Linked DNA regions of Homo sapiens: all the other regions are linked to region 1. Evidence: promoter capture Hi-C in human tissues and cell types (Jung and others, 2019). All regions are on one chromosome and are shown on one strand. Each heading gives the region's core, a stretch centred on a gene start or on the middle of the fragment in contact. The rest is flanking DNA. Distances are from core to core; before and after follow the strand shown.

Region 1 (3,555 bases), core at 576-3,075:
AAATACACATATTGCAACTAAATGATAAACACACATCTGGATCACATCTAGTCTGAACTCCAAAACAGGTCTTCACTGTACAGTCTCTTGTGAGAATGAAGCTTTCTGCTGAAGGTAACAGGAATCTAAGGTGGCCTACCCTGTTTAAATCCATAGGTCAGGCATGGCGGTATATCTTTGTAAAGTTTTTTCATTGTACTCTTGCAAGAAATATTCACTTATATCCAGCAACTATTCATTATTTCACAAGGTTTGGGTTTACACTGAACAAAATTACCAATTATGTTCAAAACTGGTGTTCATATAGACAGCCAAATGCCTTATTTTGATGAAAAGTTGTAATAATGAGCATGGAGAATTATTTTTATGTTCCAAGATTCTACCAAAGGCATTAAATTGACTATTTCTTCAAGATGTTCTTCTCAAGTTTTCCTTTCATCCTACTTTCTACCCTCCATTTGTTCCGCACAGATACAATATCTTCTCTATTTTTCCAACTTTCTCTTAGTGGTTAAGGGAGTCACACAGAAAAGCTTCTCCACTTCATGGAATATTCGCTATATTCCACTTTATAATGAGGCTCTCAGTGAATCGTTCTCCTCCGACTCTCTCACTTCCCTATCTCCCTTTTGTTGCCAGTCCCCCTAGGTTTGTTCTTCCCTCTTGTTTTCAGATAACTCGGATTACCCAGTTGGAACCAAAGGCCAAAGAATGTCCTCTCTATTATGTTTGATTGAAAAGCCGCCCGGAAGAGGGAAGGGGTGTGGATCTACACTTATTCACTCTTTCACTAATGTGCCAAACTATTTGATCCGTGCCGCTTTTGTGTACCCAAAACACAGTATCATAAAAGTAATTACAGGCCCGAAAATGATTCTCAGCCCAAATGAATGGCCTTTTGGAATGCTATATTCTGGACTTCTCTTTGCGTGGGGGAGGGTCTCACAACTAACGAAAACAAGTCCTACAGAAAACTGGTGAGCTCGGCGGCTGGGGGAGGGAGGGAGGGGGGTCACAGGTCCGAAGTGCAAGGGACGCCGAAACAGGACTTGCCTCAGTTATGAGCACGTGCTCTGACCTGGCTGCGGCGGCGCAGGCAAACCCCTCGGAAGGTGTCGTTGTCCACCGAGACGGCCATTGACCTCTGACTCATCCAGAGATAAGTCATCAACCAGGCCACAAGTCCCAAGCCAGCAGCTCCTGGATTTAGTGTGCACGGAAAATTTGAGTTTCAGCTGTACGACCACTAGCAGTTAAAGACGGGTCTGAATTTCCTCGGGCTCGGCCGGAAAGTGAGGATGGCGATGGAAATGCCACCCTCCCCGAGTCTGGCCTCTGAGAGTTAAAGAAGCCGGTCCCATCCCGGCGCGTGAAGGAGCTGCCGCTGTGTGGGGCAGGACCCGAGCGGCCCCAGAGCGCGCAGCTCTGGGTCCCCGCCGCCCCGTCCCCCGCGCCTCTCACCTGCGGCCGAGTGGCCCGAGAGCGCACGGCCCCGGGCGCGGCGCTGGCCACCAAGTTCGCGGCGCTCGCGTAGCTCTTCCTCCTCGTCCTCCCGCCGCCGGCCCTCAGCCATGGGCGAGGCGCGGGGCGCAGCCGCGGGATGGCCAGCGAGCTGCGGCCCCGGCGCCCCAGAACGCCTGCACCCGGCGCCCCACGCCACCGCCCTCGGGCCGGGGGGAAGGCGGCTCCCGGAGAGGAGGCGTCGGCGGCGGCTGTGGAAATGGCCACCTCCGCGAACTCCACCTGCAGCCGGCCGGGCAGCGGCAGGGCGCGGGCCGAGCCGATTCCCCGCCTCCTTGCGGCGTCCCGGCGGCCTCTTAATCCCTGGCCTTTCCCACTCCCACTCCCGCTCTCTTCCCCCTTCCTCTTTGCCTTCCCCGCCCCGTAGAGCTCCACCGCGGATCGGGCGGGTTCGGGGCTGGCCTCGCCTCCTCAGGGAGGGGTTATCGGCCCCTAAGGCCGCCCCACAGCCACACACGCTGGAAACACCAGCTCGACCCAAACAAACGTGTGCAAAATAAATAAACGGGATAGGAAGAGGGGAAAGAGGAGGTGGCCTGGCCTCTTCCTGCCTTTTCACGATATTCCAGTGTCAACAGGAAACCCATTTGTTTGACACTTAAACAAAAAGAGGAGGAACCCGACCGGGGCCGAACTGGGAGAGATGGGACAGCTGGGAGCTGCTGAACTTTGGAACAAACTTGGCTTGGAGTTGGGTCGAGCCTCTGCAATGCACACTTTTTTCTTTCCCTCTCTTTTCGCCCTTAAAAACCTAGACTTGCGGGAGCACAGAGGATTTTTAGGGCAGTGAAACTACTATGCGTATGATTCTGTAATAGCGGATGCCTTTGTCCAAGCCCAAAGAATGTACAAAACCAAGAGTGAACCGCAATGTAAACTATAGACTTTGGGTGATTATGAGGTGTCAATGTGGGTTCATCAATTGTAGCAACTGTGGCACTCTGGTGGGGGATGTTGATAATGGGGGAGGCTATGCATGTGTGGGAGCAGGGGGTACATGGGAAATCTCTGTACCTTTAGCTCAATTTTGCTGTGAACCTAAAACTGTTCTTAAAAATAGTCTAGTAAGACTGGAAGCGGTGGCTCATGCCTGTAATCCCAGCCCTTTGGGAGGTCGAGGCGGGCAGATCACGAGGTCAGGATATCGAGACCATCCTGGCTAACACGGTGAAACCCCGTCTTTACTAAAAATACAAAAAAAAAAAAAAATAGCCAGGCGTGGTGGCGGGCGCCTGTAGTCCCAGCTACTCGGGAGGCTGAGGCAAGAGACTGGCCTGAACCCAGGAGGCAGAGCTTGCAGTGAACGGAGATCGCACCACTGCACTCCAGCCTGGGCAACAGAGCGAGAGTCCTTCTCGAAAAAAAAAAAAAGTCTAATAAAAATGTTTAATAATAAATCAAGCCTCACTGTATTCCAGTTCATTTAGGGCTAGGATATGGCTACAATTCCTAGAAGAACAGGAAGAAATGTGTTAAAGAGACCCATACGTGATTATTTGTAGAGAGGCAACTAGGGGAAGTGGAGAGACCACTGGCTCTGGAGTCAGAAACTGTAATTTGAAGCACTTAGCTGTGTGAGCTACCCCTAAGAAAGTTTTTCAAAGCTGGAAAGAACCGTGTAACCAAAGTTGTGTGTACCTGCACAATACACATCTTAGGTTCAGTAGGTGCACGTACTTACTTTCACACAGAGAGGAAAAGATTCTGGAATTTCACCAAAAGATACCCAAGTAGCAGGCAGAAATATTACCTGGACATGAAACCTTAGGAAATTCCTGAGTGCGATGAACAGGCCTTTATCTTTGGCGTCTTGCTCTATTTCTGAGAGATTACCAAGAGCTCCTAATGTTCAGCAAGTAGGAGAGAAAAAGAAAGGGAGAAAAGGGTCACTGAAAATAGAATTGCCTGCCACACCTGAGTGCTGTTTCTTTGCCTTTTCAATAGTGGCTGTTGCCGCCTGAGAAAATCTTTCCGCTTTTAAGCAGATAAGAACCACAATCGATTCTGTGGAATTGAGGTCAAATCCACAAGTTA
Region 2 (3,555 bases), core at 432-2,931, 710 kb after region 1:
TCGGGCAAGTTTCTGAACTCTTTGGGAATGAAAACCTGCCTAAGGGCTTGAGTTGGTGCTGTGAGTCCCAGTCGGGCTAAAAGGACTGGCTCTGAAATTTAGGTTAAAATCTTGACCCCATCACCAGCTAGCTCTATGGCTTTGGGCAAGGGGCTCAGGTTGGCACATTTTTCTCAGCACAGAAATAATATTACCACTACCACAGGATTATTTAGTGAATAGCCCCTGTAAGTGAATCCTGTAAGGTATTCAGCATAGTCCTTGGCACTTAAGAAGTGCTTAGTGACTGTGAGCCACTTCTTCCATCGCCTCTGTGTATTGAACTGGACTTTTCATCCTGGCCCCTCACTAAGATTTTAACTCATCTAGTAAAGGAAGCCTTCTGCCCTGGGTGCTGGGATTGGCACCATAAAGAATGGGTCTTGCCCTTGAGGAGCTGAGAGTTTATTTTCAGCATTTAAATATTTAGACTCACAAGACGTTGAGCAAGTGATTTCACCTCTCTGTGCCTGAGTGTGTGGAAGGTGAACAGTAAGCAACCTTCCAACCCAATGTGTCCATGAGTCTTAATGTTGGCTGGAACTCAGCTACAGACAGAAGGAAAGAATGATTAGTCACTATGCTGGTAAACATAGCAAGGTTATCTCCTTTTATTAATAGACTAGGCTACGCAAGTCACAAAAATAGGGTAGCTTCAAAACTTAAATTCTTGGAATTTTAGTTTCTGTTGCATCTGATGAAACGTGAAAAGGGACTTGTGTTGTGTATGGACTTTGTAAAATGATCTTCTATCTCTTGGTGCAAATCAATTACTTATTAGTTTTTATTGCCAAGGAAAGGAAAATATATTACCATTCATTTTAGTCTTTTTCTTATCGATTCTGTGAGCACAGTGATAGTTGTTTAAAGAAAAATGATTACATTTATTTGTTCACTACAAAAGACCTATACCACATTATAGAAAATTCAAAAAGGGAAAAATCAGAAGAAAAAAGAGCTTTCCACACTAGTCAGCAACTGTTGGTGTTTAAGTGTTCTTTCATTTTTCTTCTGAATATTTTTGCATCGAGTATTGCATTTTCACTAAACACTAAGTAATAAACATTTACCATATTCGTACATGGATTTTATAATGATTTTGAATTGTAGAATAATATTCCCATGAGGGACATCTGGTTCCTTTGACCATTTTCCTACTCTTGTCTTGTTAGAAGGCAGCAGAGCAGGGTTTCCATGGGATGTGGTACCAGGGCTGGGTTGAGACGTGGCTCTCTCATTTCCTAGCAGTGTGACCTCGGTTAGGCCACTGAATCTCTCCAGGCCTAGATGTCCTCATCTAGGAAAATACAGGCTATATTAGTTCCAATCTCGTCAGGTCATTGTGAAGACTACATGAGATCATGTACGTAGAAAGCTCACGAGTATCTGGAACGTCGTCGAGTTTGCTGATGTTAGTGGCTGCTGCTACGTAGCCTACATTCCAATCTGACGACTGGTTTGATTTTTATAAACATCCTCCAAGAAAATGCACGTGGAATACCAGGCCATGTCATTTCATCTCTCATGTCACTTTATCTTTTGAGATCCTCATTTGCAAAGTGAGATGGTCAGACTATACAGTGTGACCCCAAAGGCCCCCTTCCACCTCCAACGACGGTGATTCTTGGCTTATGCTAAAAGCAGCTATAACCACTGCAGGGAAATGACCTATGGAAACCACAGCCTTGCCCATGAAGAAGGAAACCTGCAAGGGCCTGAGGGCTTGTGCACATCAGTTTATCTTTTAGTCCAGATAAACATTTGACATTTGTTCCGACACCTTCCTTCCAAGGGCTTCTCACAGTTCAGTCTGTGTGCTTCTCAGATCTCCATTTTTCAAATGGGTTCAGCAGCCGGTGCGCTCATCCAAAGTTTTATTTATCCATTCCACATTTCTAATGTCGCTTCGCTGCTGTGATCATTTTCCTATGTGGTCATTTAAGGAAGATAAATTGAACTGCAAATCTCAGTAGAATAGGCATTGCTCTTAGTCATTCCCCAAGGGACAGAGAAGATTTTTCTCACTCTTAGCACCACCTGCTTGTGCTCTCCCTATAATCTCCCAAGAGGAGTTTTTAATTAAAAAAAAATTATTTGGACAGCAGAGTAGTTGGGTGAGTTGCCTCCCTGGTCCATGCACTGTTACCCCTAACATTCAGACTTCTCAGATCCCAAAACCAGGTGCTGAAAGGGACTGAACTAATCTCACCTTAGGATCAGAGGTGCCCCTGCCAAGAAGCAGATGTCATTAGCATAGAACTGACAGCCACAAAAGCTTCCCACCCACCACCTCTGGCCTTCTGTTCCCAGAAAATTTCAGTGGCGTCAGCTTTCCCATCCAGAGAGCCTCTCCAGTGGGCACATTAGACAGGAAACATTAGGATGGAGAAGAAGCCTGGCACACAGGGACATCCACTGGGATGCAGAATACAGCGTGAGTTTTTGTTTCTTTGGTGTTTTCGGCTTTTTTTTTTTTTTTTTTTCCAAATGGAGTCTCGTTCTGTTGCCCAGGCCGGAGTGTAGTGGTGTGATCTCGGCTCACTGCAGCTGCAGCCTTTGCCTCCGGGGCTCAAGCGATTCTTTTGCCTCAGCCTCCTGAGTAACTGGGATTACAGGTGCCCACCACCACACTTGGCTAATTTTTGAATTTTTAGTAGAGACAGGGTTTCTCCATGTTGGCCAGGCTGGTTTCAAACCTCTGGCCTCAAGTGATCTGCCTCCCAAAGTGATGGGATTACAGGCATGAGCCACCGCACCCAGTCCAGCATGAGTATTAAGGTTAAGTATGTGGGCTCTGGATCCAGGCTGCCTAGATTTGAATCCTTGCACTGTTTATTCTGCGTGACCTTAGGTAGGTTATTTAACCTCTCTGTGCCTCCATTTCCAAAATGAGAATAATATTAATAGAAGAGCTTTTCATAAGGCATGTGAGGATTACATGAGTTAGCACATGTAAAAAAACATAAAACATGCCTGGCATATCCCAAAGGTGTGGTAAACAGGAGCTCACACCATGAGTGATTGAGGACTATGTGCTCAATGAGTGAATCCCATCCTTTCTGTAAGGGGCAGTCAGTAGTAGTAGGAAGAGTGTGGGTTTTAAGGAAAGACCTGAGTTTGCATATCACCTCCAGTTTGTGTTTAACTTTAAATAAATTCTAGACTTCCCATACCCTCAGTGTCCTCATCTGTTAAATGGGAACACTTTCTCTACCTTCGAGGCTGACTGTGAGGACTAAATGGAAGTATGTATTTTAAAGGCTCAACACAGTGCCTAGCACATAATCAGCTTCTGAACATGTGAGCTCCTGACACAGCCCAGCTCAAAACAGGAGCCAGGGTCTCCCCAGGGTTTTTAGAGGCAAGCACTGTTTCATTTATTCCTAGTGTTTGCTTTATTGCTGCCAACCTAGTCTTCACAGTTCCTGGGGTTTGGGTCATCAAAGCCATTTTAAAAGTCTCTATTTTCCTCCAGCGTCTCCCTCCTGGTGGAGAGATGCCTGCCACCTGCTCGGG
Region 3 (3,555 bases), core at 392-2,891, 600 kb after region 1:
GGAAGGCAGACTCCCAAGCCTATCCTGAGACATTGCTCTGCCCAAAATGAAATTCCATCCTCAACAGCCAACTTTGCTGAAGTATTGTCAGCCCCTGTGGAGGGAGGATAGCGAAGGTCCTGAACACCTGGAGAAAGCCATCCGAGGGGTGTTCCTTCTCAATAGTGCTTAATACAGTATTAAGCAAAGATTTCTCTGGATCATGAATAAGTGTGGCTGTCAGTATATCTGCCACTGTTGAGTTAAATAAAAATGGAAACATCAGAAAGAGCATTTAAAAAACCCCAGTAATCATTTTACCCATTACTTTACAAATAGGTTTCTACTTACTGATTCCTATGAGAATAAAAATGCCATAAGGGGAGAAAAAAGCTCTTCTTTTTAAGTCAAGCTGGAGAATGAGTGTGTCAGAACACCCAGGAGAGATATTCAAGCTTCTAGCTCCATCTTAGATTGCAATCTGATGTCTGATGGGACCTGGGTCTCACTAGCAAGATATGGCAGGTACTTTTCAGCTGTTTTCTGATGGGAAGCCAAGCTGCGGAGTCGGGCGAGGAAGCTATGTGTACCTGCAAGTTCTGGTGGATGAGACCACAGGCGTTTGCACATCCTGCATGTTAAGCTGTTGACCTAGAGACCTGCAAAGTTCCAAGGAGCTCGTTTCTGCTCAGAGAAAACAGCTCTGATTGGCAATAGCAGCTAATGAATTCTTACTTGGAGGCAAACATTGACTTCACCTTTGAACCCCAAAGAACCTTTGGAAAGCTCAGAGCTTTTTAAGGAATTTTACCTTCAGGCTGAGGATTTTAGGCCACATAACGTCAGTGGAATGATGAAAGGTCAGCATCCTAGTATCCTGCAGACAGAGGACTTGAGGAGTGTGGGGTCAGCAACCAGCCCCTCAAATGGGTCAGTGCTCAAGCCAGCTGCTAATCCCATTTAAAGACATTGCTAGCACTGAAGGTTCATGTGACCTCATAGATGCCATTGATGTTAGAATCAGAGAGGCTTGTGACCATTTCCTCTTGTTTTACTGAGGAAGAGGATGAGGATCAGGGAGGTGCCCATGGTCATTGTCTTGTTTACAACACAGCTCAAATATTTCCTGGTCAGAAATATCCAGGACTAGCTTTGGTGATGTGACAGATAAATAGAGCCTAATATTTTGTAGTGAAAATGACCAGAAGCTCTGAAAACCAGAAGCAGATGCAAGTCCACAGGAAGCATGATTAGAATGCCCCTGGCACACCTGCTGTGGAACGCAAGGTGGGAGAGACTCAGGTGGGAGCATTCCTCACCTCCCACTAGGAGCATCTGCCCAAGGACTGATGCGCGCCTGGCCAAAATGTCTTGACATGAACTTCCAAGCATTGAAGGGAAGGCTGATGGCCCTGCAAGACATGGAAAGGAATGCCAGTTGTAGACTGCAGGCTCATCAGTGAGCGCAGGACTGTTGCCACTCAAGCACCACCACCACCATGGCCAGACGTTGAGAAGCAAGAAGACAGAAATAAAGAGGCAGAAAGAAGGACATGAAAACCTACCTGATGGAACAATAGTGAAAAGTCCAGAGAGGCTTGCTCAGAACTCTAGCCTTTGTCACTTTGCAGGTTTATAGTTATTCCTTTTAGAGGGTTTTTATTGTGCATGTGTGTATTACCAGTGAATATTGAGCAAGCATTTACTGGGTATCAATTTTGTCTAAGGCACTATGCTGGAGCAGTGAATATGACACAATCCCAGACTGGAGAATCTCTAGACAATGCCATGTGAAAAGTGCCGTAGAAGGAGTCTGAGGTGCCATAGAATGACAGTGGGAAGGGAGTACCAATGTCTAACTGCAAGAATCAAGCACTGCTTTAAAGAGAGTGACATATGTACTCAGTCTTCTACTTCACAGGGTGAAAGAATGGGGCTTTGTGTTCTAAGCCAGGAGTCAATATGCAAACTTTTTCTCTAAAGAGCCAGATAGTAAATATTTCAGGCTTTGCAGGTCATAAAATCTCTGTTTCAACTACTAGAGTAGTTGCAAAAGCCACTGTAGACAATACATTAATGAACGGATGTGTCTGGGTTCCAATAAAACTTTATTTACAAAAACAGGCATCAGGTCAGAATAACCTGAAAGTCACAGTTCATCAACTGGTATTCTAACCCCTTGATGAGCCAAATCCCATTTAATGCTCACAACAACCCACTTGGGTAGGTACAGATGAAAGAGAACTTAGGCAACTTGTCCAGAGCAATACAGCAAGTAAAGGGCTGAGGCAGGATTTGAACTCAGGCCATCTGCTTTCAGAGTCAAATCCCCAACCCCTCATGCTTCCCTTATTTTTAAGATAAGCTTATAAATAATCATCACAACATCCCCCAATCCCATTTCTTCCTCCCCTCTCTGTCCCTTCTGTCATTTCCTTGCTTCTGTGTTTTTTTTTTTTTTTTTTTGCCCTTTATTTTTCGAAAACAAACAAACATATTTTTTGAACTTCTATAATTTGCCCAGCACAGTGCCAGGCACTTTGGAGAAAACATCGACAGAAGATAATACAGAATCCCTGCATTCCGTTGGTTTATCATCCCATCAAAGACCCAAGGCACATAGAAAAGAATAAGAAAGTGTTGGGGGAGGCAGGAAGCCTCCTTCCTGCTCTGGGGAGCTTGTCCTAGGTAGAGGGGGTTCACCTGTGTGACTCAGCTGGCCATTCTCCATCCAGCTGTCCCCAGAAAGGAGGAGTGTGATGTTTTAACTGGAGAGCCATGAAGAGGAACAGGGCACACAGAACCACGCTCCCTTCCTTCCCCTTCCTGTTAGGAGCCAGGCTGCCCACAAGAAGTGCTTGCTTTGCTCTCTCCTCTGTGATCATTGGCAAGGGCGGGGATCTGTGCCCCAGGGAAGAGCTGTCCCCAGTGCTGCCTGTGACAGGGTGACTAGGCTGTGAATTCTGCTAGTCTAATAGCACATTTATCAACAATGAAGATGTTATTTTGGTCTCCACATGCCCTATTCTTTTGTCTTATTTCTCAATTAGTTTGTGACTTGCTGGCAATGCCTGGCATTATTAACCAGGCCTATTGAATCCCCCAACAGCTGATGCCAGAGAGCATGTGAGAAGTGCCCTCTGCTTCCCCCTTCCTCTGAAAAAAGGACACAGATTGCTGGTCAGAGTTTGGAGGAGGGAGAAGAGGTCTCTGTGGCCTTGGAGGGAGGTTAGGAAGCTTGGATAGCTTCACTGAGGAAACAGACAAGTCTTCAGGGAGAAATATCGTTCAGAAAGGCTAATCTTAGAGCACATGTTTGTTGCTGTTTGGAATCAGGACCTCGAGGTCCCCATACTTCGAAGAATTTTCTCAGGACCTCTTCTCTGGGAAGAAGAAATTCTGCCTCAGAAACTTTGTATGGACACAAAGGATGATTTTAAACGTCCAGAGTGTGCATTGAATGATAGAAACTTAGAATTAGAAGGAACTGTAGAGATAATTGTATCTAATTTTACAGCAGTGAATCCCAAACATGGGCTGCCTCAGAATTACCTGGGGAGTTGAAAAAATATGGAT

Evidence for each region. Contacts are between HindIII fragments. The study calls those that stand out against the background at their distance.
Region 2: a fragment that was not itself captured here is called in contact with the fragment with the promoter of SH3D19 in region 1 in 1 of the 25 tissues and cell types used here (lymphoblastoid cells).
Region 3: a contact is called between a fragment that was not itself captured here and the fragment with the promoter of SH3D19 in region 1, in 2 of the 25 tissues and cell types used here (mesenchymal stem cells and thymus).

What each region holds. Positions count from the first base shown.
Region 1 is chr4:151,323,780-151,327,334 of GRCh38, forward strand. It overlaps SH3D19 (SH3 domain containing 19), which reads right to left and starts at 1,826. Exons shown (of 20, transcript NM_001378122.1): 1 at 1,462-1,826. The coding sequence starts at 1,573. The HindIII fragment of the contact is 31,894 bases long and covers 318-3,555 here.
Region 2 is chr4:152,037,884-152,041,438 of GRCh38, forward strand. No RefSeq gene overlaps it. Among named protein-coding and RNA genes, the nearest start is that of LINC02273, 61 kb to the right of the region's middle. The HindIII fragment of the contact is 6,310 bases long and covers 1-3,555 here.
Region 3 is chr4:151,927,752-151,931,306 of GRCh38, forward strand. The region is part of intron 3 of LOC127898557 (a long non-coding RNA gene); the gene reads left to right. The region is part of intron 3 of LOC127898556 (a long non-coding RNA gene); the gene reads left to right. Among named protein-coding and RNA genes, the nearest start is that of LINC03074, 26 kb to the right of the region's middle. The HindIII fragment of the contact is 3,585 bases long and covers 1-3,434 here.